Regions from separate parts of the Homo sapiens genome. Here regions 2, 3 and 4 are each linked to region 1. The links are contacts of gene promoters, found by promoter capture Hi-C in blood cells and fetal thymus (Javierre and others, 2016). All regions are on one chromosome and are shown on one strand. Each heading gives the region's core, a stretch centred on a gene start or on the middle of the fragment in contact. The rest is flanking DNA. Distances are from core to core; before and after follow the strand shown. Region 1 holds the start of PTPN18 (protein tyrosine phosphatase non-receptor type 18). Region 2 overlaps HS6ST1 (heparan sulfate 6-O-sulfotransferase 1). Region 3 overlaps HS6ST1 (heparan sulfate 6-O-sulfotransferase 1). Region 4 has its middle 3.2 kb from the start of HS6ST1.

Evidence for each region. Contacts are between HindIII fragments. The CHiCAGO score rates a contact against its expected background, and 5 or more counts as called.
Region 2: a contact is called between a fragment that was not itself captured here and the fragment with the promoter of PTPN18 in region 1, in 2 of 17 cell types (M0 macrophages and total CD4 T cells). The highest score is 8.4, in M0 macrophages.
Region 3: a contact is called between a fragment that was not itself captured here and the fragment with the promoter of PTPN18 in region 1, in 2 of 17 cell types (M0 macrophages and total B cells). The highest score is 10.1, in M0 macrophages.
Region 4: a fragment that was not itself captured here is called in contact with the fragment with the promoter of PTPN18 in region 1 in 8 of 17 cell types (total B cells, non-activated CD4 T cells, naive CD4 T cells and 5 more); the score reaches 13.4 in total B cells.

The regions. Positions count from the first base shown.
Region 1 is chr2:130,354,700-130,357,421 of GRCh38, reverse strand. It overlaps PTPN18 (protein tyrosine phosphatase non-receptor type 18), which reads right to left and starts at 1,366. Exons shown (of 15, transcript NM_014369.4): 1 at 1,222-1,366. The coding sequence starts at 1,314. RefSeq lists silencers at 927-976, 1,117-1,786. The HindIII fragment of the contact is 15,291 bases long and covers 1-2,722 here.
Region 2 is chr2:128,286,523-128,289,244 of GRCh38, reverse strand. All of the region lies in intron 1 of HS6ST1 (heparan sulfate 6-O-sulfotransferase 1), which reads left to right. Among named protein-coding and RNA genes, the nearest start is that of HS6ST1, 31 kb to the left of the region's middle. RefSeq lists an enhancer at 583-1,412. The HindIII fragment of the contact is 1,488 bases long and covers 729-2,216 here.
Region 3 is chr2:128,303,903-128,306,624 of GRCh38, reverse strand. All of the region lies in intron 1 of HS6ST1 (heparan sulfate 6-O-sulfotransferase 1), which reads left to right. Among named protein-coding and RNA genes, the nearest start is that of HS6ST1, 14 kb to the left of the region's middle. The HindIII fragment of the contact is 2,947 bases long and covers 1-2,722 here.
Region 4 is chr2:128,320,703-128,323,424 of GRCh38, reverse strand. No RefSeq gene overlaps it. Among named protein-coding and RNA genes, the nearest start is that of HS6ST1, 3.2 kb to the right of the region's middle. RefSeq lists an enhancer at 1-522 and silencers at 989-1,198, 1,239-1,558. The HindIII fragment of the contact is 3,262 bases long and covers 1-2,722 here.

The DNA of each region.
Region 1 (2,722 bases), core at 117-2,616:
TTGTCATATTTCTAAACTTGATACATGTCACCATATATCAGTTTATGCGTTTGTATGGTATGTTTCTATGTCTGGTACATAAGCGATTACACTTTAAACACGTCATCAACTGTAATGTACAGTGCCTAGCATTCTGCGTGAGCCTTCCTAATGCTGGGCTTGCACTACCTGTATTGTAACGTTTAGATTTTTTGTTTGGTTTTGTTTTGTTTGAGATGGGATCTCACTCTGTGGCCCAGGCTGGAGTGCAGTGGCACCATCTCAGCTGTGCAGTGGAACCATCTCAGCTCACTGCAACCTCTGCCTCCCAGGTTCAAGCGAGTCCCCTGTCTCTGCTCCCTAGTAGCTGGGATTACAGGCATGCGCCCATGCCCAGTTGATTTTTGTATTTTTAGTAGAGACGGGGTTTCGCTGTGTTGCCCAGGCTGGTCTCGAACTCCTGAGCTCAAGCGATCCTCCCACCTCGGCCTCCCAAAGTGCTGGGATTACAGGTGTGAGCCACCGCACCTGGCCCACGTTTAGAATCTTTATAGGCAGTGACGAACGCCCCTACGAAGTGTGCGCCCAATATGTACTAAGTGCTTTTCACCCACATCATTTAATCCTTAGACCAGTTTGGTCATTCATGTCCCCATTTCACCAAGGGAGAAGCCGAGGTCAGAGGGGCCAGGTAGACCGCCTGGACCACACGCGGATGGCCGGGACGCGGATTCGGGACGGGAAGCGGATTCGGGCCCGGACGCGGATTCGAGCCCGGCGTTCACACCCTCACCACGCCACAGCCTCCGTGTTCCTCTTCGCCCTGCTGCAGCCCCTTCCTTCCTGTGGTCACAGGGGACAGTCAGGTCGCCAGAAGCGGCGGGGCCGGGGCTGTCCAGCGCAGCAGGGCCGCCCGCCCTCCCCTGCGGCGCCCGCCCCACCTGTCCCGCCCGCAGCCAGGTTGTTCCGGGAGCGCGACGAGGACACCGGGAACGAGGGTGTGCACGGTCCGTCCCGGCCTGGCCGTGGACGTCGCGCTCCGGGGCCGGGGGGCAGAGAGTGAAGACGGAGACAGCAAGAGCGACAGAGAAGTGCTGGGGAGAGAAACACGGAGAGACCCCCCGAGGCGGGGAGACACCGGGGACACCGAGACAGAAAGGCAGAGCCCGCCGTGCGCGGAGGACAGGCGTACGCAGGGCCAGGGCCGGGGCGCGCCGCTCGCGGACCCCGTGTGCCACTCACGCTGAACTCGCCGGCGAGGACTGCCCCCTCCCGGCCGCCCCGCGCTTCCAGCCGCTCCAGGAAGCTCCGCGCCGAGTCCAGGCTGCGGCTCATGGCGCCGCGGGCCAGCAAGGTCCAGCCCGGCCGCCGCGCGCGCGGCGAGTGTGGACGCCGCGGGAGGCGGAGGCCGGTGACTGAGTCCCCGCCCTTGCCTCGGCAGCCAATGGAAGCGCGCAGCGGCGGGCAGGGCGCCCCAGCCACCGTGTTCTGAGCCCGCGTAGCCCCACCCCGGGCGCTCGGGCCGCTGTGGCCGGAGCCCTAGGTCCTCGCGGGCTGCCCTGAGCAGAGTCCAGCGCCGGCGCTTCCCCTTTTTTTCGGCTGCCGCGCCCACTGGTGGGGGGGTGGCACGGTCCCAGGTTCGCTCCCTGCCGCTTGGGACCCGCCCTCAGATCGGGATCCGCGCCCAGGGGCCGACCTCCGGGTGCCGGCTCTGGGTGGACGGCCGAGCGGTCTCGCCGGGCCCTCCCGCCCGTCCCCTGGGAGCCAGGCCGCGCGGAGTCCGAGCTGGGGCGGGCAGCAGCCTTGGGTGGAGACGGTCGCCGAGATCAGGCTGCCCCTCGTGCCAGAGGACCCCGGGTCGGGGGCGTCCCGCGCTGTGCGCTCCAGCCGGGCCCAAGGGAGGCCGGGGAGGGGCAGCCACGCCGTGGGAAAGGCCAAGTGGCAGCGGGATCTTCTCTGTGTATTTCCCGAGGAATTTGTGGTTCCTTTTTCCCGGATGCGCTGGGGCACCAGGGTCAGTCCTGTGTGAGCATCTCGACCTGCACAAGCCTGCTGGGAAACAGAACTGAGGCACTGGAAGTGGGTTCTGGGGAACGAAGAGCTTCTCTTTTTTGCCTGCCCTGACACTCCCATCTTCAGAAAGTGTGCAGAGGTCAGAGGAGAGCCGCCGTTCCAGCTTCCGGGATCACCGAGGGGAGGCTGGAGAGAATGGACTGGCACCTGGGTCTCTTCAAGGACAGGCCTAGGTTAGCCCCCTTCTCGCCGAGGTCGGAAGAATTAAGAGGGGTGTCACTGGAAGGGGCGTCAGTGGACACCAGTTTGAGGTCGTTGAGGGGTTGAAAGGTAGCATTGGGGCCTGGATGTGTGCCTGAGTCTCTGAAGGGTCAACAGGGGCATGATGTCAGGTGGTCAATTTAATTCACTAGGGGCTATCAGAGTATTTAAGGGCACACTTTCTTAAAGGTCCCGGTAGGAAGTGGTTTTGGCTTTGCTATCGCTGCCCCAGCTGCTTAACTCAGCTGTGGCAGCATGAAAGCAGACAATATAGTGTGGCTGTGTCCCAAAGAAACCATTTATGGACAAAGAAATCAGAATTTCATGTAATGTTCATGTGTCATGAATTATTCTAGTGTGTGTGTGTGGCCTACAGGCTGTCGTTTGCTGACCTTGGCTGAAGTGATGGAGCGATCAAAGTGGCTCTGTGGGGATCAGCAGCTAGGGCTGTTTGATTTATCGTGGGGTC
Region 2 (2,722 bases), core at 223-2,722, 2.1 Mb after region 1:
TCAGGTGACAGCTTTCTCAGTGCATCACCCGGAGCTGTCGCCCTCCTTGTAAGTAGAGCCAGGGCCATGGGAGTATAGAGTTGGATACTGCAGTTAGCTTGGGCACAGAATGGCTTATCTCTGGGGTGGGCTGTTTAGGCTCTGAATTTCCCTGTCTGGGGAAGAATAGTCTACATTCAAGAGCATGCAAGGCCATCTCTCCGCGGCCGCCTCTGTGTTTATATGGACTCGGGGGTTGAGGGAGCAGGTGTCAGCCCCTCTTCGCTGCAGAGAGGCTCTGTGGGGTCGTGGGTGAGAACCAGGACTTTGCCTCGGACCCTGACATGAGTTGCTGTGGGGTCAGCAGGAGGTGGAGCCTGGAGGGGTCCCAGGGACACCCCCAGTGATCCTCAGATGAGCTCTCGCCCTCCTGACCCCGAGAAAGGCTGATTACTGGTGATGATCCTGTGGCTTTGGAGATGTCCTGAGAGGCTGCTGGGGAGGCCCTGAGCCTCCCAGGCCTCCCTGACTCTCCTACCTCCTGTGAGAAAGTCAGATTAGATTGTTTTGTTTGTTTGTTTGTTTTCTAATACATGCATGGTTATATAAAATCGGAAAAATACAGAAAAAGTAAAAGAAAAAATGGCCCAGGGCACTAGGCCCAGGGCACCTGGCGCGGGTTGCATTTCTGCTCCATCTCTCCAGTTGATGTGTTTTCCAGAGTTGGCATCAGGCTGTACCCACAAGCTTTGATGTGGCTCTTTTGCCCATTGTGCACACAGATATGAGCTTCTGTGTTAATGCAGAGTCCCCAGAAGGGCTGTGCTTTTCTACTGCCATGGAGTCACCGGGCGTAGGTATCAAGTCGTGCTGGCTGGCCTCAGGGCCCTGAGCACTTTCTCACCTGGCAGGGACAGTTTCATAGCAGGGTACAAATACTGCACACCCCGGCAGGACCTGACGCTGCCGCCAGCCTCCCTCTCGGGCCTCCACGTCTCTCTTGGTGGGCCCAAGCAGCCATGGTGGATGTGTAGTTACAGGCTGTAAGGAAGAGGAAGGGCCACGTGAGTCCTCGCAATAGCCTCAGCAAAAGGCCTAGAAGCAGAAGGAGTGAGCCCCAGAGCTCTTGGCCAGGACAAGAGGAGGCCATGGCTCTGGAGACAGGTCTCAGGCCGAGCCAGCCCGCCCCTAGTCAGCTGCCCTGCTGCTCGACTGCGTGCCCTGTGAAGAAGCAGGGCACTGTCACCTTCTCCTGACCCCAAGGTATGAGTGTGTGCGTTCAGGCATAAGTGACATCTCGCCTGCCGGTGTCAGAAGCCAGAAAGTGCCAGGCAGGCAGGTGTGAAATATGAATGGGCAGCCTTCATGACCGGCGAGCAGCCCCGCAGGGCCCTCATGGCCTTGCTGGAGCCCTGCCTTGGAGCAGCAGGCAGGAGAGTCTGAAGGGCAGTGGGACACAGGTGAGGAGGTGGTCCTCACCCCTTCTGCTCATGGAAGACCTCGGCAGAGCCCCATTCCAGGTGTCCAGTCAGCAGCATCTGGGCCCGGGCTGCTCACAGCCATGCTGGGCTTTTGGACAGGGTCAAGCTCCCAGAAAGCCATCCGCCTGTTCTCCCCTCATTGAAGAGGGCTGGTGCAGAGCACCCCTGGACCCGGCGTCTCTAGCTGGCCCTGCTGGGAGGACATTGTCAGCACCTCCTCTTGTGGCCCCTACCCTGGGGGTGACTTCTAGGACCTCCAGAAGTCACAGCCTTACCTGACACCTGCTAGGTGGAGGCAGTCCTAAGCCTCACATCCCGGCTCTCTGCCCAGTTCTCTGTGCACCCCCACTTCAGTGCTGTTGGAGAAGCAGCCCGTCAGGGGACCTGCTGGGGGTCTCGTTCACCCTCACTGAGTAGGGGGGGCAGCTGTCCCTGCCCACAGCTGGGCAGTGCATCTCAGGGGAAGGGGCCTCACCTGCACCTTCTCTGGGGGAGTGCCCTGGGCCCTGGATATATCCACTGAGGTGCTCTTGCAGGGGGACTGCCCTGGTCAGGAATGGGAGTGACCATTCCTGGGACCAGGAGGGGTTGGGCGCTTCCTTCCCATCAGTGCCTTTGTGGAGGTGTGGCGGGTGTGGCCTGCATGGCACCCCACAGTGTGTGTCCACCTGATGGCTAAGCCACCCCCTGCCCCAGAGGGTTCCTTGTCAGGGCGCAATGAGATCATGCAGGTCAGGGGGCTTTGAAGGAAAAGCTTTGGGCTTCCCCCAGTGTGGGGCCTCTGCTTCCTGGTCACTTGCTCCCCGACCACCCCAAGGGGAAGGTGGGAGTCTCAGGCTCCTAGGAGGCATTCAGAGGGGCCTCCTGCTTTGGGGGATGCTGTTCCCCAGGCAACCAGGTGGGGCCTTGGTTTCTCTATCTGGGTGGGCACAGCTTTGCAGGAGGCAAGGCGTATCGTGGCCAGCAGCCTGCTCTGTTTTCTGAAACCTTTGCTGACCTTGTTTGTAAAGCCAGCAAAGATTTTCACCCGCTTGCAGACGTTGTTAGGGAAGGGGCTGAGGAGGTATTTCCTAAACCTACGCTAATAAAGCCTCTTGTTTTTTATTTTTTAACAAGTCAGTATTTTGACACAAGGTCAGAAGTTTTCCTTTTTCCCACCATTTAATAGCAGTGTCCTGTCCTTGAAACCATGAACTCATTTCCTCTTCTGACCAACCCGTGCATTTGGATGGCCTGCAAAGCCTGGGCGTGCAGTGCAAGCT
Region 3 (2,722 bases), core at 71-2,570, 2.1 Mb after region 1:
CCATCCACCTGAGAATTAGAAAGCGCCTTCTGCTGCAGGGCTTGCAGGAACAAATGTTTACAGCCCCTAGGCGGCAGGGGGAGCATCTCCCCTCTGAGTTATGAGCTTTAGAGGCTCCTGTGTAAATATTTACCTCTCTAGAGCATTGGTGACCGTGGGAGATCGGGATCTGTAAGCACTGAGGTTTTCTGTTTGCGTCATCGTGGCCAGGGTGGGGTGGGGGTGTCGTCCTGGAGCAGGGAGCCAGGCTGTGGAGCGTGCAGCTGCGTTCTCCCTGGAATCCTGGTCCACATTCCCTGGCAGAGAAATCTTCGCAGCGGCGCGGCCACGTCCTCCAGCCCGACCACAGTTGATGGAGGGAAAGCCAGGGAAGGCACTGTCCTGTGGAGTGACACCAGCGTGCTAGCCCTGCTGAGGAGCGGAGGCACAAAGGAGGGCATTCCTGTCCCGAGGGTGCAGTCTGGGAGCAGGGAGGGGCTGTGACAGTCTCATTCAGGCCTCACTGTCAGGGGCGCTGTTTTGCAGATGAGTAAACTGAGACTCAAAGAGCCTAAATAACTCATCACCTAAGGTCACCGGTGGCAGAGCTGGGATTCACACACAGGCCTGTGCCTGCAGGATTTCCCCCAAACTCCTCCCAGTGACAAGTCGCAGGCAGGTCACTCCCCAGAGTGGGGGAGCCAGGCGTGTGGCTCATGTCCGCCACAGTGCCTGCCTCTGGGAGGGTAACGCAGCTGCTCTGCGAGCAGGTGGGCTCGCCAGGGAGTCCAGGATGGTGCAGGGAACCTGGGCAGGTCCTGAGGGACTGCTGGCCCACCCTCCTCAAGGTCCAGCTGAATGAGTGGCCTGCTGGAAGCAGCTGTCACCAGGTGTGATGCTTCAGCTCCCCTGAGAGGATCAAGGGCAGGCAGAGCAGATGGTCTCCCGGGGGAGTTGAGAGGGTTGTGATGTCACCCGTAAGGAGAGGCTCTGCCCAGGCACTAAGCCGGGGAGAAGGTAGGCCCCAGAGTGAGAGTGGGTTCCAGCTCTGCCTGGAGAACAAGGGCCTCAGCCAGCCGGGCTCCAACCCTTGCCACAGCCTCCTTCCTTCCCGCCCACTGCAGACCCCAGGGCTCCCGGTTGGAGGGGCTCGGCCCCTCCTCTTCTGCCTCTGTTCCCTCCTGGCAGGCAGGAAGGTGAGCAGGTCTGAGCAGTTGGTTTAGCTCACGCAAGTCCAGGCAGGGCCGCTTGTCGGCACACGTCCTGAACCCTGCAAAAGTTCAGGCCTCCCAAGTCATGCTTTAAAACTGTCCAAGCAGGCCCATCGGGAAGCCAGGCCCAGCAAGGAGGGGTTTGTTACTCTGCTTTCCTGGAAGCTGGGCTGGCAACGTTCCCAGCAGAGAACATCATTCTTACAAAGTAGAGGGGTGTCAGGTTTCAGCCAAGTGGGTAAAAGGCAGGTATTGGGATTGGTGTGGCTGTTCCAGGACAGGAGCAAACCCCCATCCTTCAGCAAGTGGGTCAAATGGGGACCCAGGCAGGCAATGGGTCAGGCCAGCAAAGGCTGGAGAATCCAGAATGGAGAGCTTAGGAGGCCCTCATAGCAGGGAGCTGCCTCCTGCATGACACTGACCCTGTGCATTCCACACAGATCACAGGCACTGCCCTGGGCCACCAGGAAGGCCCTGGGGACCATGTTCCATGGGTTGCCACAGAGCCAGGGGATGATGGCCTGCAAGTGTGTGTGGGTGCTCAGTCACCCGCCCTCCCCAGTGCAGCCCAGCCCAGCTGCAGGAGAGGAAGGTAGCCATTCCTGAGTGTCATGAGATGCTGAGTGCTCCAGGGTGGGTCCTCTCACTGACCCAGTGAGGGCTGCCACTGCTGTGCGACACTGCTGTGAGCACTCTGATGGGACACAGTGTCACTGTCCCTGTTCTCTGGTACATGGGTGCCTCCATATCTTCCCAGTGGCAGAGGGTTTTTGGCCAGCATCTGACTACAGCGGCTGTGTGCATTGCTGCAGTGCTGGGCTCTCCCGAGAGGGGACCCACGGGCAGAGGTCACCAGCCAACCCAGGGACCTTTCTGGAGTCCTGTGCAGCTGTCCATTAGCAAGGCAGCCTCCGAGGGATGCCAGGGCCTTACAGTCTGTGACAGGTACTTGTTTCGTCCTCCTGCCCCTTAGCCAAAGACAGCTTAGTGCCCAGGCAGTGGTCCTGGTCCTGAGGGGCTAGAGGCCCTCCTCTCACCAGGCCTGTACCATGCACCATCTCTGTCCCTGGGGAGCACCCACACAGGGAGACCCAGTTTCTAAAGGCTCGGACACACTTCAAGAGGACGAGCATGGCTGGCAGCATCCCCCAGCGTAGGGGTCGGGGAGGGGGAGCTATATTAGGGTTCTCCAGAGGGACAGAACTTATAGGATATATAGAGACAGGTGAAAGAGGATTTATTGGGGGAATAGGCTTATGCAATTAGGGAGACTAAGATGACCCGAGATCTGCCATCTGCAAGCTGGAGAACCAGGGAAGCCAGCGAGCAGGCTTAGTCCAAGGCCAAAGGCCTGAGAACCTGGGGGCTGTGGTGTTAGGTCCCAGAGCCCAAAGGCCCGAGAACCTGGAGTTCTGATGTCCAAGGGCAAGAAGATGAGTGTCCCAGCTCCAGAAGAGAGAGGAGATTCACCCTTCCTCCACCTTCCTGTTCTGTTGAGGCGTGCGGTAGATTGGAAGATCTCTGCTCACGCT
Region 4 (2,722 bases), core at 158-2,657, 2.0 Mb after region 1:
TCCCGAGCCCCAACGATCAGGCAAGGCTGCCTGGAGGGCACTGACCATGCCCTTCTAGGCATCAGGGCCCAGGACTGAGGCCACCTTCTTCCACCTGTGCCCCGGCCCCTGGTGGCTTAGGCAGCTGGGGTGGGAGCAGCAAGCACCCCATGGTTGAGTGACTTTTCTCGGACTAGAACATTTCACCCTCAAAAGAGCCGCCATCCACCCCACCCCACCCCCAGGGAACATCCCCAACAGTGGAGCTTGTCAAGCTGCTCAGTGCCCTCTCTGGTGGCTCCCCCGACCCGGCCGAGTCGGAACCCCTCTGGGCAGTGAATGACAGCCATCTGGGAGGAGACCCACTGGCCACCGGAAGCTGCGAGCAGTCACCCCCCACCCCATCCAGGCTGTGATCCCGCCTCCACCCTAGTCGTCTAAAGACATGTCCCTTGGGAAGTTTCAAGCAGAAGAACCAGGACGATGCCCTTGGGGCAACGTTACCAGGTCCCTGTCCTGCCTCCCAAGCTGGCAGAACCCGCCAGGCCTGCCCACAGTCCCGCTGCCCGGGGAGGAGGGTGGGCTCCACTGGACAGACTCCGAATCCCGGCCAGGCAGCAGTCCAAGCCCCCCACTTGCCAACAACCCCACGTCACACGCGAGGGCAGGGGGCCAGCCAGGGGGAGGTCACCGAGCCAGCAGGGCGGGGGGGGCGGGCAAGGGCCGGGGAAGCCCAGGACCACGCTGCCCCTACGAATTGCTCAGGTTCTCCTCTTCTGTTTATCCTACCCTCTTCCCCTAAGGACTGAAGCGGGCCTGGAGGGCCTAGAGAAAGGGCACAAAGAACAGCGAGGCCCTGGGCGGGCGTGGAGGGAGGGGAATGGCCCTTCCGAAGCCCCGGGCCTCTTCCAGCGCGGTCCTCGAACCGAACCGCAGGACCCCTGCTGTCCCCGGGCAGCGGCCGGAGCGCGTCCCTCGGGTCCTGGGAAGACCTGCCGCGTCTGCGGGCTGCCTGGGAGCCCAGGCGCCCCGCGGTGCTGGGGGAGGAGCCCGGCACGGGGCCGCTGGGCGGCAAAGGGGCCGCGGGCTCCCTGGAGGAGGCGGCTGCGGACGGGGCCTGGCGACCTCGGAGAAGGTGGCGTCCACGGCGCGCAGCCCGGCGCCCCAAGCCTGCCGCCGGGTCGGGGTCGGGGCCGGGGCCGGGCCCCGCGGGTCCGCGCGAGCCGGAGTCCCCTCTAAAAGTTTGTCCCCAAACGAAACCCCTCTCTCTGCCCCGCGTGGGCAGCGGGGCCAGCCCCACGGGAGGCTCTGAGGACAGACACGACTGCCCTCCTCCACCCCTTGGCAAACAACAATGGGCGGCCGCCGGACGAACGACGAGGGAAGCGAGTGTGGAAAATCCCCCAATTTTTTGCAAAGTCAACCGCGGGCGCTCGGGGGCCGGGCCGCGTGCTGCCCCCGCGCGGCCGTCCGCGGGACTGTGCGCCGGGAGGGGGCGCCGCTGTTGATCTCGTGGTTCTCAGACTCTGAGACCGCACGGTGGGCCGGGAATGAGGCTTCATTCCTGAAGCCGAATGTTAATGCCTCTTCTGGGATCATCACAGCCTGCCACTAAGCCGTGTTCTTTTACTTTTCTTTGCCATTAAGTCAGAGATCACGCATTAAAGAATTGGTGAAGTGGATCTTCAGGGGACAAAGCCACTGAGCAGAAGAGCTGCCAGTGCTTTTCCTTGGACCCCACAAGCAGTCAGGGCCAGAAGCTGCCCCTAGCAAACACTTAGCTCATATGCACTCTCGGGGCTGGGGCAAACCTTGGCCACGCAGGAGATCACCCAGGGAAGAAAGGAAACAGCGCGCAGAGCGCGCCTCCTGAGACCCTGGCTGTGTCCGCTGACCTCCTGGAACCCCACGCCAGCCCCAGACTGTGCGTTTCTATCCATTTTCCAAGACATGACACTGAGGACTCATCGCGGGGAGTAGCGGGAAGTGGTGGGGAGTAGCGTGATGCAAGCTGCCCCGCCAACGAGGGCTCGAGCTGCCTTCCACTCGGCTCAAGTGTCCACTGATTGATGGGTGGCTCATCTGACTTGACTTTCAGAGCCCAGAAACTCACCTACAGCCTTAGGGTCTCAGGTGCCTGTGCAGGGCTTCAATCAAAGTGGAAGACTGAGCAAAGTCCTGTAGCCAGCCAGGCAGATTTCCCTCCTCTTAAAAGAATTCTAGAAAGAAAGGGCTTCCTGGCTAATGTGAGTGCTTCCCATCAGCCAGTGTGGCAGGTATGAAGTTGGATTAAATAGCTTGTTCTGGGAGATGTTGCTCCATGGGTCAGGCTGCTCTGGCTCCCATTCAAGGGTGGGACCTTATCACAGGCACTTCGTCCCTGCCTGGGCCTCAGTTTCCCCCTTGGGACAGTGAGATCATCACAGGGTGGAGCCATGGCCCAAGTACCGATGGCTTCGTTGGCCTTCGGAGCTGCTCCAGCTTTCCCTTGAACACTCTGGGCCCACGTTCCCCCTTGGTGGCAGTGACGGTCACCAGGCTCTCAGGAGTGGCCCCTGTAGACGCTCTCATCCCTGGCCTAGGGAGCTGGGGCAAGTGCAGAGGTGGGGAAGGGGAGGGTTCTGGGGCTCACAGCAGGAATCAGGATCCCAGCTCTGCTGACTCTCATGGGGTGAGAGTGGTTGACCTTGGAACCAGGGTCTTAACCCCTTTGAACCTCAGTTTTCTCTTCTGTAAATGGATA